Regions from separate parts of the Homo sapiens genome. Here region 2 is linked to region 1. The links are contacts of gene promoters, found by promoter capture Hi-C in blood cells and fetal thymus (Javierre and others, 2016). All regions are on one chromosome and are shown on one strand. Each heading gives the region's core, a stretch centred on a gene start or on the middle of the fragment in contact. The rest is flanking DNA. Distances are from core to core; before and after follow the strand shown. Region 1 holds the start of ZNF461 (zinc finger protein 461). Region 2 holds the start of ZNF551 (zinc finger protein 551).

The links. The method cuts DNA at HindIII sites, captures the fragments that hold promoters and counts their contacts. A CHiCAGO score of 5 or more calls a contact.
Region 2: the fragment with the promoter of ZNF551 here is called in contact with the fragment with the promoter of ZNF461 in region 1 in 1 of 17 cell types (total CD4 T cells); the score reaches 5.8 in total CD4 T cells.

What each region holds. Positions count from the first base shown.
Region 1 is chr19:36,665,135-36,668,130 of GRCh38, reverse strand. ZNF461 (zinc finger protein 461) reads left to right here and starts at 1,294. Exons shown (of 6, transcript NM_153257.5): 1 at 1,294-1,441. It also overlaps a transcript of ZNF567 not described here. RefSeq lists an enhancer at 988-1,117. The HindIII fragment of the contact is 6,595 bases long and covers 1-2,996 here.
Region 2 is chr19:57,680,621-57,683,687 of GRCh38, reverse strand. ZNF551 (zinc finger protein 551) reads right to left here and starts at 1,711. Exons shown (of 3, transcript NM_138347.5): 1 at 1,444-1,711. The coding sequence starts at 1,524. RefSeq lists a silencer at 1,271-1,340 and an enhancer at 1,396-2,019. The HindIII fragment of the contact is 7,295 bases long and covers 1-3,067 here.

The sequences.
Region 1 (2,996 bases), core at 45-2,544:
TTTACCAAAAAAATAAAAATAAAATAAATCGTTTTGGCCTGACCCGGTGGCTCACGCCTGCTATCCCAGCACTTTGGGAGGTGGATGCGGGAGGAGCTGAGGAGGTGGAGACTGCAGTGAGCTAGGATCGCGCCACCGCAGTCAGCCTGGGCAACAGGGCATGAAGACCCTGTCTCAAAAAGAGGCCGGGCGCGGTGGCTCACGCCTGTAATCCAGCACTTTGGGAGGCCGAGGCGGGCGAATCACGAGGTCAGGAGATCGAGACCATCCTGGCTAACACGATGAAACCCCGTCTCTACTAAAAATACAAAAAATTAGCCGGGCGAGGTGGCGGGCGCCTGTAGTCCCAGCTACTCGGGAGGCTGAGGCAGGAGAATGGCGTGAACCCGGGAGGCGGAGCTTGCAGTGAGCCGAGATTGCGCCACTGCACTCCAGCCTGGGCGACAGCGAGACTCCGTCTCAAAAAAAAAAAAAGAAAAAAAAAAAGTTGAGTGAAATATATGACGTACAGTTTTTTGTTGTTGTTGTTGTTTGTTTTTTCTTGCCCGGGCAACAGGGCAAGAAGACTCTGTCTCTAAATAAATAAATAAATGGAGTCAAATATATGACATACAGTTTTGTTTGTTTGTTTGAGAAGGAGTTGCTCTGTCGCCCAGGCTGGAGTGCAATGGCGCGACCTCGGCTCACCGCAACCTCTGCCTCCCGGGTTCAAGCGATTCTCCTGCCTCAGCCTCCCGAGTAGCTGGGATTACAGGCATGCGCCATCACGCCCGGCTAATTTTGTATTTTTAGTAGAGACGGGGTTTCTCCATGTTGGTCAGGCTGGTCTCGGTGATCCGCCCGCCTTGGCGTGAGCCACCGCGCCCGGCCAAAAAAAAAATTTTTTTTTAAATCGTTTCACATACAAATCTCACGCGCTACACCCTCACCGTCAGTTCATATCCACCTTCTCCTCCGGAGTCACCTTCGGACACGCGCACAACAAAACACCTTTCTCACCACAACTCCACAAAGGGAAGCCGGGTTAGTCCGCGCCCGCCGAAAATTATCTTCAGCCACAGCCCGCGGAGGCCGCCTTGAGGGGTTCGGGGCAGCCACTGTGCCTATTCCGAAATCCGTCCTCAGCGGAACCCGAAGTCCAGAATCCGAAAACGAACATTAACAGGTTGGCGTCACTCCAGCCTCGGGTGAAACTGCGCAAGTGCATCCCGGAGCCCGGCGGAACACACCCGCTCCACCCCAGGCGCTCTCCCCTCGGACTGCATTTCCCAGAGGACACTGCTGTCCACAGCTACTTCCGGTAGGAGCCTCGCAGGAATGGTCTCCGGGTAGAGGCAGGTAAGGATGTCCCGGGCCGGTGGAGAAGGAAGAGCTGGGCGTGTGGCTTCGCTTGGAATCCGAATCAGAGCTTGGACCAGAGCCTTCCCTGAGAATGCTGAAGGTAAGAAATCCTGGCTCACCAGTGCCGCGGAAGGGAATGTCTATAGTTTTAGGCCTCTGAGTGCGGGATCAGCCCTTAGGTGGGTGTGTTTTGAATGCGTGAGGAAGTAGGGTTTCTCTTTGGGCTGTGTGTTACTGTTGGGACAGCGACCTGGTGCGTGGGTGTGCTTTAGTGACAGTGTGATTGTGTGCCTGATCATTTGTGTAAATGGGGTTTGTAGGTGACTGTGACCATGATTGTGAATGGCTATTTGTGTAAATCTCATTTATTTACGTGAAAGAAAAAGCACATTTACAGGCCGGGAGCGGTGGCTCACCCCTGTAATCCCAGCATTTTGGGAGCCCGAAGCGGGTGGATGCCCTGATGTCGGGAGTTCGATACCAGCCTGGCCAACGTGGAGAAACCCCACCTCTACTAAAAATACAAAATTAGCCGGGTATGGTGGTGCATGTCTGTAATTCCAGCTCCTTGGGAGGCTGAGGCAGGAGAATCGCTTGAACCCGGGAGGCGGAGGTTGCTGTGAGCCGAGATCGCGCCATTGCACTCCAACCTGGGCAACAAGAGTGAAACGAAACTGTCTCAAAAAAAAAAAAACAAAAAAACATTCACGTTATCCTCAGGCTCACACGATCAGGCAGAGAGCTTCCACTCCTCTCAGTCAACTCTGGTCTCTCACACACAGACACACGCACATTCACCTCACCCCGCTCCTGTGCACACATCTAAGGCTCAGGACGCCCCACTCCAGAGATCTGTCATTCATCCATCTCTCATCCTTTCCTGACTACTTGAGGAGTTAGCTGTAGATTTACACACACAACACAAGCGAAAATCACATTGCTACCCCGCATTTATCATTACAGCCTCAGAAAAACACCACATATGTAGTATGCTTATGTACCTATGTGTTTGATTTTTTTTTTCTGAGATTTGGCCACAATACACATTGTTCTGCAACTTCCTTTTTTTTTTTTTTTTTTTGAGACGAAGTTTCTCTCTTTCACCGTGGCTGGAGTGCGGTGGCGCGATCTCGGCTCACTGCAACCTCCGCCTTCGGGTTTTAAGCAGTTCTCCTGCCTCAGCCTCACGAGTAGCTGGGATTACAGGCATCCGCCACCACACCCAGCTAATTTTTGTATTTTTAGTAGAGACGGGATTTCACCATGTTGGCCAGGCTGGTCTTGAGCCCCTGACCTCGTGATCCGCCCGCATCTGCCTCCCAAAGTGTTGGGATTACAGGCGTGAGCCACCGCGCCCGGCCTCTGCAACTTCTTACTAAAAGATATTTATGTCCTTTTGTCTGTATTCAAAGACAAACTTAAGAATATTTTTCAGGATGTTTCCAGGTATGATTCTTCTTTAATTCTTACAGCACTGTACTTCAAACTAAAGACTCAAGAATTTATTTTGGTCTGCAAATTTTTGTTCTATTTATTTTTTCTCTTCCATCTGTGTTGTTTCAGCCTCTATTTTTGAAATTTCTGTTACACATACACTGGGTCTTTTGGGTCTGTTTTCTGTTTCCCTAATCTTTTCTCATAATGTTCATTACCTT
Region 2 (3,067 bases), core at 462-2,961, about 21 Mb before region 1:
CACAGGAGACCTGTCCTTGACCTTCCCCTCCCCTTCCTTGACAACTATTATTATCATTGTGAGCAGGCTTCCCCTCTACTAAATGTGATCCACAGCTCCACCCCGGCCCACAGATTGTCCACTACCTTTTGGAAAAGTCTCCATTCTGAATCTCTCCTCACTGTTCCTGACCTACAGTTCCAGCAGCCCATGAACCATTCTCTGAAAGCTCTCATACTCTTAGCAGGTCAAAAATAAAACTTCTGATATCCCAAATGAAAACTACTCCTACTATGTACTTCCCCATCTTAGTTGATGGAGCTTCCACACTTCTAACTGCCAAAATAAAACCTTTCAGTCATCCCTGACTCCACTCTCTTTCTCAAAACTAAAAATTCAGGCAGCCCTACTTAAAAAATGAATCCAGAATCCAACTGCTTCTCGCATCTTCACAGCCACCATTTTGGCCTATCACATTCTATCACATTCACCTGGCCTATCCCAGTAGTCTCCTCCCAGGTCTCCCCACCTCATCCTTCAGTTGGCTTCCCATGCTGCAGCCACAGGGAGCCTAATAAGACCAGAACCAGATCACCTCCCTCTTCCACTCCAAACCTCCCACTGTTACTATTAAGTAACGAATAGACAACTCAACTTCTCAGGGAACCATTCCGGGTCTGACTTCTACTACACTGCTCCCTGTTCTCATGAAAAGAAAATAATTGTAGGTTCCTGAACTATCTTAGCCTCCTCTCCAAACTTAGCATATACTGGTAACTTTGCCTTGGACAACCTTCTACATCTCCTTTCCCCCGGCTGCCAACAGCTTCATATAATCTAACCTGGACTTAAGACTCTGGGCTTTGTATTTGCTCAAAGTCTCAGGGCCCAAGGCTAGACGAGTGGCGAGGCTCAGGTCGCCCAATGACCCTGGTCCAGTTTTGGAGCCAGGTGGCCTGGGCTGGCTGCACTATCTCCGCACCTCAGTTCTCAGTGCTGACTTTACCAGCTGCGTGAGCTTGGACAAGAACTCAGTCTTCCTATGCCTAACTACTATTACCTCTCTTCAGCCTGTTCTTCCCCTGAGCAACTTTTGGATAGCTTTAGGAAATCCTAGCCCAGTGTCCCTATCTGTTCACAAATCTCGAAGGCTGCCAGTGTCCTCAGAATCGTCAAATTCGTCAGGTGCAACTCTGCCTCACTCTATGTTCCTGCAGACCCGAGACGGACCCCAGGCTCCTGAATCCCCCCCAGCTTAGTCGCAGCTCCAAGTTCTGCACGCGCCAGTCAACTGCCCGTCACATTTCCGTACACACTGGGCGTCACAAACGGGTCCAATCCACAAGCGCCTTCTTGTCCAGGGTACTGGGGCCTGGGCTGCAGGGCTGTGAGCAGGCATCCCTCACTGGGCCTTAAGGCTTCTGCTGGGGGAGGTAGGCGAGACCCGGAGGACGCACAACTCACCTGAGCCGAGTCCCTCAGCGCGACTGCCGCCATTGAGCTCCGTGGACTAGGCGGGGAGCGGCGGCCGACCGGGGCGGGCATTCGAACACAACAGTCCCTATCCCGGGCCTGGCGCAGCTCACCCGAGGTGGTGTCGCAGAACCTCTGGCCCACTTTCGCGACTTCTCTGTCCCGTCCCTCAGTCGCGACCTCCACTGCAGAAACTGGCGGGCTGGACAAACAGGACAGAGGCCAAAATGACCGCCACGAGGAGGACGCCGGAAGTTCCGGCCCGTCGCGCTGCGCGTGCGCGGAAGTGTTGCTATCCTGGGCTGTCATTGGCTCAACTCCGCCGCCGTTTTGCGCTCTGCACTCTGGATAATGTAGTTTCCAAAACTCCACGGAGCTCTTCGGAGTGTGTCCACTGCTTTGACCTCTGCGAACTTGTATTCTGAGGTGCTGTGCCCCGTGCAGGGAAATGGCGACTTCGGCCTCTAGGGGAGAAGGAGGTATTTACTCCTTCTTAAAGGGGCTTTTCCCAGATTTCTGGGAAGTGTTTTCCGTAACTGATCACTTAAGTGTTTAGAGACATTATTTCAGACTCCACGAAGCTCAGGGTGCCCCTAGAGGCAAACAAATATTATTTCAGGGGGTTGGGCGCGGTGGCTCACGCCTGTAATCCCAGCACTTTAGAAGGCCGAGGCGGGCGGATCACCTGAGGTCAGAAGTTCGAGACCAGGCTGGCCAACATGGCGGAACCCCATCTCTACTAAAAATACAAAAATTAGTCGGGCGGGCCGGGCGCAGTGGTTCACGCCTGTAATCCCAGCACTTTGGGAGGCCAAGGTGGGTGGATCACGCGATCAGGAGTTCGAGACCAGCCTGGCCAACATGGTGAAACCCTGTCTCTACTAAAAATACAAAAATTAGCCGGGCATGGTGGCGAGCGCCTGTAATCCCAGTACTTGGGAGGCTGAGGCAGGAGAATCGTTTGAACCTGGGAGGCAGAGGTTGCAGTGAGTCGAGATCACGCCATTGCACTCCAGCCTGGGCGACAGGGGGAGACTCCGTCTCCAAAAAAAAAAAAAGAAAAAAAAAATTTGGATTTTGGAGCATTTTGGATTTTAGATTTTTGGCTCAGGGATATTCAACCTGTATTTTGTTCTCATTAAATAGGTTCCTCTTTCACTTTGTTATTGTTTGATATACTAAAGTTTTAATTTTCATGAAGTCTAATTGGTCTATTTTTCTTTTGTCACATGTGTATTTGGTGTCAAATCCAAGAAATTATGGCCAAATTCAATGTCATAAAACTTTCACCCTATATTTTCTTTTAAGTGTTTTATAGTTTTGGGTCTTATGTTTAGGTTTTTAGTCCATTTTGAGTTCATTTGTGTTTTTGGTGTTAGGTAAGGGTTCACCTTCATTCCTTAGCATGTGAATATTTCATTTTCCCAGCATCATTTGCTGAAAAGATCATCGTTTCCCCATTGAGTGGTCTTGGTAGCCTTGTTGAGATCATTTGACCATATACATTACTATTGCAAATGATATTGTTTTCTTAATTTCCTTTTCAGATTTTTCATTGTTAGTGTATGGAAGGGCATATGAGTTTTACATGTTGACTTTTGCATGTTGACTTTGA